Linked DNA regions of Homo sapiens: region 1 is linked to region 2. The links are contacts of gene promoters, found by promoter capture Hi-C in blood cells and fetal thymus (Javierre and others, 2016). All regions are on one chromosome and are shown on one strand. Each heading gives the region's core, a stretch centred on a gene start or on the middle of the fragment in contact. The rest is flanking DNA. Distances are from core to core; before and after follow the strand shown.

Region 1 (6,269 bases), core at 2,564-5,063, 260 kb before region 2:
TGTAGCTCTTGAAGTTTGTCTGATTCAGAGAGGACTGTTTTCTGGTCGCTTATCTAGCCAAACCACAAATTGAGCAATAGAGAAAGGAAAAGTATTACCCAGGATTAAAGTTTATTGCTGATGAATTTTTCTTCAGTCTTAATTCAACATTATCAGGTAGGGAAGTTTCTTCTTATTAATCCCTTTACTTCAAGCAAGGCTTGAAATTGAAACCTGGAGTATTCTGATACAGTGAATTTTTTTTTTTAATAACCATGAGAAACAGAGCTTACGTGCTTCAGCAGACCTACCTCTCCCTTTCTCTTCAACGGTTTAAGCAATTCCATTGCAAATGATTAGGGTAGACACTTATTCTGTTATCATTGTAAATACTGCTCAGTGGATCTTCAGTGTTTCTCAGTAATCTCTTTTTATTCTCCAATCAAACTACTACTTCTAGCCTGGTATTCTTAAAAAGGGCCTAAGCCGATTGGAAAAGCATAAGAGGCGATTTGCAGAACAGAAACGACTCAGCAAAGTGCATCGTGCTGTCAAGTTCAGCATTGAAGGCAACAGGATGCCCCTATAGGCCTGGCCCTACCAGAGTATATACACGAGAGGTATTCCCAAGGAAGCATGTACTGTGCATGGGCTTGAATTGTCAACAGTCAGAGTGAAAAGTGTGTGTGTGTGTGCTTTCTTAATCAGAAGAGGCCAGGTCTGCTTTTAGTTTCAAAATAATGACCCTAACAGGCACCTTGGGATATTCAAGGCCTCTTGAATATTTAGAAATTGACATGGAAGTCCCTTCCTTTATCAGTATCCTAGAGAGTAATAGATAATTACTTCCCTAATATGCATTTGGGTCTTCCTGACTGGTACCCGTTTTTATGAAAAAGGTTTTTGTTAGGACCCAGAATTACAGTGATATGTGTTACAGGCATATAAACTAGTTAGTGGTTTCCTGGTGGGAGGTAGCTTGTTTCCTGCTGTCAGTGGCTCAGCAACATGCATTTGAGAACTCATTACATAAAGCCTTATACTAAATATTTAGGAGATGAATTTGATTAACACATACTCAAAATGTGGTCAGAAGTGGAAAAGACTTGGGAACATTCATAAGCCCAACTCACTGATCCACTATGCTTTGAGACTAATGGCACCTTTGTTGCGGAGCACACACAGTGTGTGTGTGTTGCCTGCCTATGGTTCTTCTCCATGACCCCTGCTTTGGCAGCTGTTTCCACTGACTCCACTCTCCTACCTGCCAGTTCATGTTGCTATTAAGTGACTATCAAAACAAAACGTACTTTCTTATTTCTTGAGAATAAATCGAGGGTAGAGAAGGACTAGTTCTGTGCCAAGAACTTCCTCCTCTCTCTCTCCCTCCTCTTTCTTGTGCCCATATCCGTGTCCCTGACCACCTCTCCATGTCCCCTGTACCTGTTTCTTTTTTGCCCTTCTGTCCTTTTTCTTTTTCTTTTTCTTTTTCTTTTTGAGACGGAGTCTTGCTCTGTCGCCCAGGTTGGAGTGCAGTGGTGCGATCTCCACTCACTGCAAGTTCCGCCTCCTGGGTTCACACCATTCTCCTGCCTCAGCCTCCCAGTTAGCTGGGACTACAGGCTCCTGCCACCATGCTCGGCTAATTTTTTGTATTTTTAGTAGAGACGGGGTTTCATCCTGTTAGCCATGATGGTCTTGATCTCCTGACCTCGTGATCCACCCGCCTCGGCCTCCCAAAGGGATTACAGGCATGAGCCATCTCCTTTTTCATTGTTTCTTCTCTCTTTTTAGCCGTCTTTCATATTTCTCTTAACATTTTTATTTTTGAGAATTGGGAACTACAATATGGCAAAGAAAATAGGTAATAAAAACTCTTAGTGGCCAATCTGCTTTGAAAGCAGAGGTTGTGTTTCCAGGGCTGTGTCCCTGTGTGCTGATGTTTCTGGTTCTGGTCCCACTTCCCCATAGGTGGAGCAGGGTTGCATATTCACTCAGGACTTGCTTCCACATTGTAGACGCTAATGAGCAGTATTAGAAAAGACATGTCCAGGAAAAGAAATGGAAATGGGTTTCCAATGAAACACTTTTTGTCTTAAGTATCATTTTTGTTTTCAAAGTTATGTAAATAAATATAAAAAATAAATAGGGTTTTTTGTTTTTTGTTTTTGTTTTTGTTTTTGAGACGGTGTCTCACTCTGTCGCCCAGGCTGGAGCATAGTGGTGCAATCTCTGCTCACTGCAAGCTCTGCCTCCCGGGTTCACACCATTCTCCCGCCTCAGCCTCCTGAGTAGCTGGGACTAGGGCAGGCGCCCACCACCACACCTGGCTAACTTTGTTTTTGTATTTTTAGTAGAGATGGGGTTTCACTGTGTTAGCCAGGATGGTCTTGATCTCCTGACCTCTAGTGATCTGCCCGCCTCGGCCTCCCAAAGTGCTGGGATTACAGGTGTGAGCCACCATGCCCGGCTAACAATTTGAGGTTTTAAATGTATTTCCAGATATGCCTTGAACTTAGTTTTTATAATTATAGAAAATGTTTAAGTACAAAGAGAAACATTATTCATGGTCCTAGCATTCAAAAGCAGTTTGATGTATTTGTTGTCTTTTTTCTACTGATAACGTTAATTAAAATTATACTAAATATCAGCCTGGACAACATAGCAAGACTCCATCTCTACCAAAAAATTAAAAAATTAGCCGGGCATGGTGGCATACATCTGTAGTCCTAGCTACTTGGGAGGGTGAGGTAGGAGAATCACTCGAGCCCAGGAGTTTGAGGCTGCAGTGAGCTAGAATCATGCCATTGCACTCCAGCCTAGGTGAGACCCTATCTCTAGAAAACACACACACACACACACGCACACGCACACACACACACACACACAGCCCAACCCCCCCACCCCACCACCCCCCGCCCCGACCAAATTATAATTTTGGTTATTTTCCTTCATTAAACCACCTAGTCGATTTATCATTTTTAATGGCTGCATAATGGTCTATCCTGAATATAATTTGCTTTTTTTTTTATTATGTATTTTCTTTCTTTGTAGAGATGGTTTCACCATCTTGCTCAGGCTGGTCTCAAGCGATCCTCTGGCCTTGACCTCCCAGCGTGCTGGGATTACGGGCGGGAGCCACCACACCCGGCCATGAATATAATGTGTTTATTCGTTCGTTTATGATTTCTGATTTTTTACTCCTAAATAATGTAGTAACCTGTGCTACATTGTATTTTTTATATGTTCATTTACTCCGTGGAATACTTCTAAAATAACAGTAAAATGACAAAGGAATGCCTATTTTTTCATGAACTTTTAAAAATACAGAAAGCATAAATAAAATTAATGCCATCTGTAATCCCACCACAACTTAATGTTAACATTTTAAATTATTTCTTTTTTTTTCATACATATGCATAGACAATTACTGGGTTTTTGTTTTGTTTTTTGTTTTTTTTTCAAGCGACATTGTGATTGTATTCTTTTATACCTTATTGGGTTTGTTTTTTACTTACCATGGTAAAAATCCATTTGAGTGAGCATTCTTGAGTGGTTTTGCATTGTGTCTTCACACAGTTGTACCATAATTGAAGCTGCTTTTGGCCTTGCTCTGGTAAAGCAGTGTAGCACACACTCTTAATTTCTAAGGAAGTGTAGCGTTCCCTTGATGAATCAGGAGAGAGATCATTGAACTTGGTGTATGAGGTACTCTGGTCTGTCTTTTCAAGCTTGGGGTAAGTAGGCATCTGCAACTACCAGTCATATATTTTGTAACCCACTGGCCCGTGTGTGCCCTGATTGCTGAGGCTAGACAGATCCATCAGGGCTTAGACAGTTAGTGAGGGTCCTGGGAGTAGGCGAAGGGAAGTCCAGTTAATGTGTGAAGCTGCTGGGAATTGTGTAGTTGGCAGAGATTTGAGCAGGTAAAGCTTCCGATGTGGACCAAGTACAAGTACTAAGATCACGGCACATCCTCTAAAAGGAAGTCAGATATTTGGGACTGTCCAGGAAATCTGGGAGATAGTGTGATGGTGGCATAGCTCTTTCTCATCTGACACTTTTTATGCTTACTCAGAGTACGAATGCCAAGTATTGAGACGATACAGAATAATATTTGAATTGAGATATTCCTAGAAAGACAGGTCAACATGGCTCTTGGTCAAGAATGACTTAGAGTTCCTTGCCTAGTGCTCAGCTGGCTTCATGTCATAGTTGAGGCTGGGTCCACAGGTGGGATAAGATTCCACCAAAGCTCACCAGGCTGGTACTGACCCCAGAGTGTCTCCCAGGCCCTACCTTATTTTAGCATTCTTTTGAATTGAGTTTCAGAGGTGATTCAGTAGTAAATGTATGGGGAGAAGAATTAGAAAAACCCATCTCTTTTTAAGCAGTCATCATTCTTAAACATCTGAATTGTTTTACAACAGAGTCAGCAAACCTTTCTAGCATTTCTAAAAGATGGCAGTTTCTTGGAGACCACATCTTTGCAAGGCAGTATTTTCAAAATATAAAATAGCCCCCAAACCAAACCTTTAAACATGAAGGGCAAATGGGTAAAGACTTAATATTCTTTTTGTGTCAAGTATACTTAATGTAAATCTAGTTGCTTGTGAAGTAGTAAAATAGTAATAGCTCCTATTATTTTGAGCACTGACTATATGTGCTCAGCCTCTGTGCTTGGATCTGACATCACTATCTCATTTCCTTCTCTCAGCAGTTCTGGAAGGAGTACCTACCCTGGGTATGCTTTGCCCAGGGTCACAGAAGTTACTGAATTAGAGCAGGGATTCACCCCAAGTGTAAAAACTCAAGAGCTCCTGCACTTAGGGGTTTACTTCACTAATCATCTAACCTCATTTATTATGCTTAAGGCTTTTTCTCAGCTGACCTGACTTTGCTTTAGGTCATTCTTTTTTATGCCAGCACTGTTTGAAAGTGCATGTCAAGCGGCTAGCTCCACATTTGGTCTTCGAAAGGGAAACGCATGCAGTTAAAACGTAATGTACATGATGGAATTGGGAGGATCATAGTCTCAGTTTCCCCCCCCCTTTCTCCCATCTAGGAGACCTCCATGGACTGCAGCAAAATTAAAAATAAAGCACAGACAACAGAATTATTCTTCACTGAGAGAGTTTAATATGCGTTTCTAACACCATCTATACTTGCTTTGTTGTTCTTGAGGTCATCAACACACATTCTGGTTATTCCAGAGCTAGAAGCTCTTCTGGTTGCTAACTCAGTTATAAGAAGATGAAAGACATAACTAGACTTACGTATTTCAGTAGTTTGCTCTTTAATTTTTCCCTTACTCTTAGTTTCAGGCGACCTCCAAGAAGGGTATCAGTCGACTGGATAAACAGATGAGAAAGTTCACAGATATAAGGAAAAAAAGCAGATCTGCACACGCAGTGAAAATCAGCATTGAGGGCAACAAAATGCCATTGTGACCTTGCCTGGAATGTGTCCCCATCTCTACTCTAAGAAATGCGCAATGGACTCTTTGGAGAAAGAAGATATTTTAAAACATTTTTAGTGTGTCTGTAAATGGTTCAGCGTGTATCAGATGTTGTCATAGGACTCACATTTCTCTCAGTTATATTTAAAACCGTTGTGTACTTTGTACAAAGGAATACTAGTCATACTTCTATAAACTTTACACAATAAAATTTCATTCTGGTTTTTGGGGGGCTGTCTCTTCATTTCTTAGAGGATACATTCTTAATAGGGGCAAAGATTGTTTCTTGTTGTGTGGGAAAAAATCTTATGATATTATAGGGGTTTGTGACCCTTAGAGGTTCAATCCTCCCTCATTGTGGTATAATGAGGAATTTGTGTGGCCTTTGCCCCTGGTTGCTGACAAGGAATGTCTAAAACACTTGTGGTTTCCTGAGTGATAGAGCGTCTCTTGTTATGCTAACGAGGTGACTGTATGGTGGGCTTTAGGGTGGAGGCTGGTAACCAGAAACAGCTACTACAGAGGGTTGGGCCAGCAGGACCCGGGAGATTGAGACGCAGTCAGTGACCTGTTTGATTTAATCAACCATGCCTGCCAAATGGGACCTGATGAAGAGCTCTGGACCCCACAGCTCAATGACGCTTCTTGGTTGGTGAAAGCATTGGTGTGCTGGGAGGGAGAGGATTCCCCTCCATGAGGACAGGGGCACAGAAGCTCTGCCTTCCCTCCCAGACCTTCCCTTATGTATCCCTTCATTTGACTGGCCCTCCTAATTCATATCTTCTGTAGTAAAACTAATCATAGTGTTTTCTAGGGAAGGATAGTGCTTTCC
Region 2 (6,472 bases), core at 1,390-3,889:
AGGAGAATGGCGTGAACCTGGGAGGCGGAGCTTGCAGTGAGCCAAGATTGCTCCACTGCACTCCTGCCTGGGCGACAGAGCCAGACTCCGTCTCAATAAATAAATAAATAAGAGTTGCTGAGTACTTATTAATCAAATTCTTTTCTTTTTTTACAGACAGGGTCTTGCTCTGTTGCCCAGGCTGGAGCACAGTGGCATGATAATGGCTCACTGAAGTCTTGACTTTCTGGGCTCAAGCAATCCTCCTGCCTCAGCCTCCTGAGTAGCTGGGACTATAGGCACACACCACCACACCCAGCTAATTTTTTTATTTTTATTTTTTGTAGTATCCAGGTCTTGCTATGTTGCCCAGGCTGGTCTTGAACTCCTGGGCTGAAGCAATCCTCCTGCTGTGGCCTCCAAAATTGTTGGGATTACAGGCGTGAGCCACCGCACCTGGTGTTATTAATCAAATTCTGTAAGTTGAGTAACTATAGCCTTCTTTGCGTCACTTACGTGATACTTCAATTATTCAAATGCAGTGTAGATTTTACAGAGTTGTAAAGGTATAAACTACTCATTAAAAATAAAATATTTAGCTGAGCCGGTGGCCTGCACCTGTAATGCCAGTTACTCAGGGGGAGGATCGCTTGAGCCCAGGAGTTCAAGGGCAGCCTGGGCAACATAGTGAGACCCAGTGTCTAAAAAATAAAATAAAATATTTTTATCTGGGCATGGTGGCATGTGCCCGTACTCCCAGCTCCTTGGGAGGCTGAGGTTGGAGATGGCTTGAGCCCAGAAGTTGGAAGGTGTAGTGCCCAGAAGTTGGAAGGTGTAGTGCCCAGTGATAGTGCCTGTGTATAGCCACTGCACTCCAGCCTGGGCAACACTGCCAGACCCCTCTCTGCTCTTTTTTTTTTTTTTTTTGACGGAGTCTCGCTCTGTCGCCCAGGCTGCAGTGCAGTGGCAAGATCTCGGCTCACTGCAAGCTCCACCTCCCGGGTTCACGCCATTCTCCTGCCTCAGCCTCCCGAGTAGCTGGGACTACAGGCGCCCACCACCACGCCAGGCTAATTTTTTTGTACTTTTAGTAGAGACGGGGTTTCACCGTGTTAGCCAGGATGGTCTCGATCTCCTGACCTCGTGATCCGCCTGCCTCGGCCTCCCAAAGTGCTGGGATTACAGGCGTGAGCCACCGCGCCCGGCCTGCTCTTTTTTGTTGTTGTTGTTGAGATGGAGTCTTGCTGTCACCCAGGCTGGAGTGCAATGGCGAGATCAGCTCACTGCAACCTCCACTTCCTGGGTTCAAACGATTCTCCTGCCTTAGCCTCCCGAGTAGCTGGGATTACAGGCGCGTGCCACCACGCCTGGCTAATTTTTTATATTTTTAGTAGAGATGGGGTTTCACCATGTTGGCCAGGCTGGTCTCGAACTCCTGAACTCAAGTAATCCGTCCACCTCGGCCTCTCAAAGTTCTGGGACTACAGGCCTGAACCTCCCTCTCTGCTCTTAAAAAATAAATGTTGGCCGGGCGCGGCAGCATTTTTTTTTTTTCAAGATTACAGCGTCAGTAATCCCAGCTACTCGGGAGGCTGAGGTAAGAGGATCGCTAGGACCCTGGGGGCGGAGGTTGCTGAGCCGAAATCGCGCCATTACACTCCAGCTTTGGTGACAGAGCGAGACTGTCTCAAAAAAAAAAAAAAAAAAAAAAAAAATGCTTAGTAACAATACGTTGTAAACGGAAAAAAATCTTATTTTTTACGTTTAGATGCATGAGTACCAACGGTATGAAATCTTCAAATAATGTAACTCAGCGAGCAGTTTAACTACTGACTAGGAAAAAGTTCCCTTCCTTGAAACCACATGGCACACCTCTGGCCTTTCCCGTGCTCCATCCCTCCCTGTGCGGCCACTTCTTTGTGCAGCCAGGCACTGGGCTCTGAGTCTAGGTTGGCGGACTCCTCTCCTCGCCTCGGCATGGAGGTGGCTTCTCTTCCCCAAGCCTTGTGCAACAGGACCCGTCCTTGTGAGGGACCAGATAAACGCCCCATGCTCAAAGTCGCTCACCCTCACCTAGTCCTCACTGCTTCCAATGGTGTGCGGAATAAAAGCGATGAGCCCGAGGAAAGCCATCGTAAACGACTGTGATTGTCTTTAAGAAAGCTTGTGGCAAGATAATAATGTGGTCATTTTACAACAGTAGGAACTACATGCAAAATCGTCTCACTTTTTTCCCCCCCTTTGAAAGTTGAGTTACAATAATTTAAGTTGAAACCATAAAGAACTGCTTCTAAAATGCAAAAAAGACCAAAGATTTCTTCAGTATACCTTCAGTAGTCATTTCGAAGGACGGTAATAATTTACAAGATCCCCGTAGACTTTTCTTTTTTTGGCCATGGTTGGAAGTGGGGTTGACCTTAAAACTTGGTGGTTTCAAGGAACGCTTAAGTGTGAATTAATATGATGTGAAGAAATAATAATAGCCTCATTCTCTTGCAGTCTAATCACAGCCTTTTCCCCAGCCCCAGGGGAGGGAGCCTTTAATAAGGGTCTGTGTAAACTGACGCCCCGGCGGCAGGAGTACGGAGAAGCACTGCTCTGACAAGTTAAGACGCAGGAAACAGCAACCCAAAGAGCAGCCCCCGAAACAAAGTTGCTCAGACAAACAAGCCGATGCAGACGAGCGCCATGGCCCTGCTGGCGCGGATCCTGAGAGCCGGGCTGCGGCCGGCGCCCGAGCGGGGTGGGCTCCTGGGCGGCGGGGCCCCGCGGCGGCCTCAACCCGCGGGCGCACGGCTCCCGGCGGGGGCGCGGGCCGAGGACAAAGGCGCCGGGCGGCCGGGGTCGCCGCCGGGAGGGGGCCGAGCCGAGGGTCCCCGGAGCCTCGCCGCCATGCCGGGGCCGAGGACCCTCGCCAACCTGGCGGAGTTCTTCTGCAGGGACGGCTTCAGCCGCATCCACGAGATCCAGGTAGCGCGCGCCGCCCCGGGAGGGAGCCAGCCCGGGCTGCTGCCCAGAAGGCTGACGGCGCGGGCGGGAGGGCGCCAGGGAGGGGCGCGGGGTTGGGGAGTCCCAGGGAGGGGCGGCGGGCAGGGATCCCCGGGCACTGGGCGCCGCGGTGGGTTGGGGGAGCTGGACTGGGGTTGTCCGGTTAAGGTTCGCAGGAAGGGGCGCTGGGGAGAGGACGCCGGAAAGGCGATCCGGGGTGGAGGAGGCAGGAACCGGGAGCGGGGCGGGGGCGTTGGGGAGGGGTCTTCGGGAAGCGGACCCCGGAGAGGGGCAGCAGGCAGAGGGAGCTGAGGAACGGGGCCAGAAAGGAACGGCTGGGAAGAGGCGGGGGAAATGGGTGTCTCGGGAGGTGGCGGCAGGGAGGGGTCCCCTGGAGGGGCCCCAGCCGGGACCCCTGGGGAGGAGGTAGCGGGGAGGGGAGTCAGGGATGGAGTTTCGGAGAGTGGTAGCCCGAGAGAGGCGGCGGGCAGGGTCTCCAGGGACTGGTCCCGGGGAGGGACCCAGGCAGGGATTGCCTGGTTGGGGAACCTGGGGAGGGGGCGCCGCGAAGGGAAACCAGGAATGGGACTGCGGGGAGGGCACCAGGGCTGAGGTCCCGGAGGAGGAGACTTGGGGAGGGGCAGCGGGCGCCTGGTGGACGCCGCCGGGGCCTGGGAGTGGAGAGCTGGCGGGACCCGCGGAGTTGGGGCTGAGGGGGGCTGCTGCCTGGGGCCGGCCCGAGGGGAGCGCTAGGTTCCCTAGCTCCTCTAGGCTCTGCGGAGCTCGGTGTCCTTAGGTGGCCGAGACCGTGTGTATTCATTTCTAGTCCTTTTTGTATTTTGTAATGGCGGGGGAAGAGGGGACGGAGGCTCGGAGGCTCGGGGTGCCGTAGGCTCTAAGCCGGAGTTGGGGGCGACACCTGGAGTTCGCGCCGGGACTGGAGGCAGGGACGTGGGAGGAACCCAGGGGTCCCAGCCACCCGCTAGGGCGTTGGGGCCGGCGAATTCCGCACGCTTCCCACTTGGAGCCTGAGTGCTGTCCTTCCCACGCCCACCTCCGTTGCGCCCTTCGTGGCAGGGGCACTGCACCCGAGCCGCGGCGGCGCCCTCCGATGCCTTCGCCCATCGTCCGCCTCCCCGGGTGCCCGGCCCAGCACGCACTGTTATTTCTGGTATGGGGGCTTTTGGTGTCTTCCGAGAACGCCCCCTTCTCCTCCCACCCAGGCCTGTCCTTCTGCCCAGAGTTCCGGTCTTTCGAGACCCTTCTCCATCGAAGCCTCTTCTAACTACCCACCTGGGCTTCAGTCATTCATTCGTTCCATCAGCCATTCAGTCAATGAACGTGAGGGAGAAGCCCCAACCCTCATTAATGGAAAAACGGGCGTGCGAGGAGCAATTTTAATTCGGCCGGGAATTAAAATTTAATTTAATTTTAATGCCAGGAAGTCCCAACCGTCCCTCCTCAAGTCCGCCACGCCAACCCTATACAGTTCCAAACCGCCACCCCCACCCCAATGCTTAGAGGGCTCAAAAATGATTTTCTTTGTAGGATCTGATAAGATATCAGGATGGCAACTTTCAAATACAGTAAAAAGTGTTTTGTTATTTGCTGTTGATGGGTTCAATACAGCCTGCTTTCTGAAGTGTAATTTAATTTTTCTTTTATCCGCCCCTACTGCCATCTGCTTTTATCCTCATACCTCACCCAGAGTTTGTTCCATGGGCACAGGTTTCTTTGAGACGGACCGTGTTAAAGCCTGTATCCAGTCAGGATGTGTGGCAGTTCAGATGGGTATTTTCCATTCACCCGCCCCTGCCGCCAGCCCTCACCCTGAGCTCAGCCCCTCCTGCCCACTGCTCAGACAGCTTCCTTCACCACACCCAGGGCCCTGGGGCACGGAGCAGAGAGTCACAACTGACTCACTTGCTGCCTTCTCACCAAGCGCACACAGGACCTGGAGAGTAAAAGAAATAAAGGAAAAAGTTCTTTCCCTTTACTCTCCAGGTGGCACTACCCCAACCCTCAAATATGGTACTTGTGGGGACTCTCACCTTCCTGCAGCCCCTCTGAGGACTCCCAATTTCGAACACATGGTTCTAGAAAAACCCTCTCTTCCCGCTCTCCAGGTTGCTCATTGTTCTGTGGCCCATCACATCCAGTTCACTTGCGCTCCCCTTGCAATCACAGAATGTTAGCTAAACAAGGGCTCTTAGTGTTCACCTACATAGCTCACCTCTCATTTTACAGATGGAAAGAGTTGGGTGGTTACCTAAGCGACTTGCCTAAGGTCAGGCAGCTGGTGATTGGCAGAGTAGAAATCATAATTTGGGTCACTAGATGCTATTTAGGGTGTGGTAGAGCAGCAGGATGGCCGAAACAGGAGTCATGTCCTCCAATGCTGGCCCTCTGCAGCCACCTGTGGAGCCTTGGGCTAGTCACTCATTCTCTCTGCACCTCAGTTTTCTCATCCGTAAAGGAGATTAGCAATCGCCATTCCTCTCATGGGTTATGATAAGGTCAAATGAGCTTAGTGTTATGAAACTGTAATAATAACAAATAATAACGATCAGTATTTCTAGAACTCTTTTCATGTGCCAGGCACAGTTTCAAGTCTTACGTGAAACTTATTTCTCCATTTTTTGGGTGAGGAAACTGAGGCATAGTGGGACCTAACTTCCAAAGGTTATTCAGCTAGTAAACTGTGAGCCCAGATTCAAACTCCAGAGTCTGTGCTCTTAACATCCAAGCAAACTCTAAGTACTGTGCCTGACTGTATAGTTCCATGGCCCACCACCAGAAAGTGATGAAAACTATCTGTATCATTTCTACCTCCAGTTCCCTTGTGCTGATTGTACCCAATTCAGTAGCTGGATTTGCTTGAGGAGTGGCCCATTTCCCAGTAGTTCTTGTTACCAGTCATTCCTTCAGTGGGCCCCTTTAGAGACCTGAACTCTTTGGGGGCCACTTATTTGTTAGGCAGAAGTGACCCCTTGGAGATGGACTCATTCCAGTTTAGTCTGAATGTCTTCATTTTCAGGTCTCCAGAAGGAGTGAGTATAAGAGTAGAGAAATGACAGTGCTCCTGGCCCACTGTTTCTGAGATTGAGAGCTGGAGTGGTGAGAAAGCTGGGCAGATACCAAAGAGAGTCTTAGTAACTTTCCCCAGCCCAGCCCTGTCTGTGTCATGCTGAGCCATGTTAGAGGCTCATCACTTTTGTGTTTTAACTGAATAATTTAGTCTATTTACATTTATTGTGATTTCTTTTTATGCAGGGAGTAACAGCTTTCTTAAGATATAATTAACATATCATATAATTCATCCATTTGAAGTATACAACCATCACCGCAGTCAACTTGTAGAACATTTTCATGACCTCAAAAAGAAATCCCATATCCATCAGCTATCACCCCCAACTCTCCTATTCCCCCTGCTTTAAGCAACCACCAAGCTACTTTCTGTATCTATAGATTGGCCTATTCTGGACATGTCATAAGTGGAATCATG

Evidence for each region. The method cuts DNA at HindIII sites, captures the fragments that hold promoters and counts their contacts. A CHiCAGO score of 5 or more calls a contact.
Region 1: a contact is called between a fragment that was not itself captured here and the fragment with the promoter of CYP27C1 in region 2, in 1 of 17 cell types (endothelial precursors). The highest score is 5.2, in endothelial precursors.

Annotation. Positions count from the first base shown.
Region 1 is chr2:127,480,204-127,486,472 of GRCh38, reverse strand. IWS1 (interacts with SUPT6H, CTD assembly factor 1) reads left to right here. Exons shown (of 14, transcript NM_017969.3): 14 at 5,298-5,661. The coding sequence ends at 5,429. Among named protein-coding and RNA genes, the nearest start is that of IWS1, 43 kb to the left of the region's middle. RefSeq lists an enhancer at 5,715-6,269. The HindIII fragment of the contact is 201 bases long and covers 3,713-3,913 here.
Region 2 is chr2:127,216,466-127,222,937 of GRCh38, reverse strand. It overlaps CYP27C1 (cytochrome P450 family 27 subfamily C member 1), which reads left to right and starts at 2,639. Exons shown (of 9, transcript NM_001367502.1): 1 at 2,639-2,949. The coding sequence starts at 2,668. The HindIII fragment of the contact is 10,532 bases long and covers 2,145-6,472 here.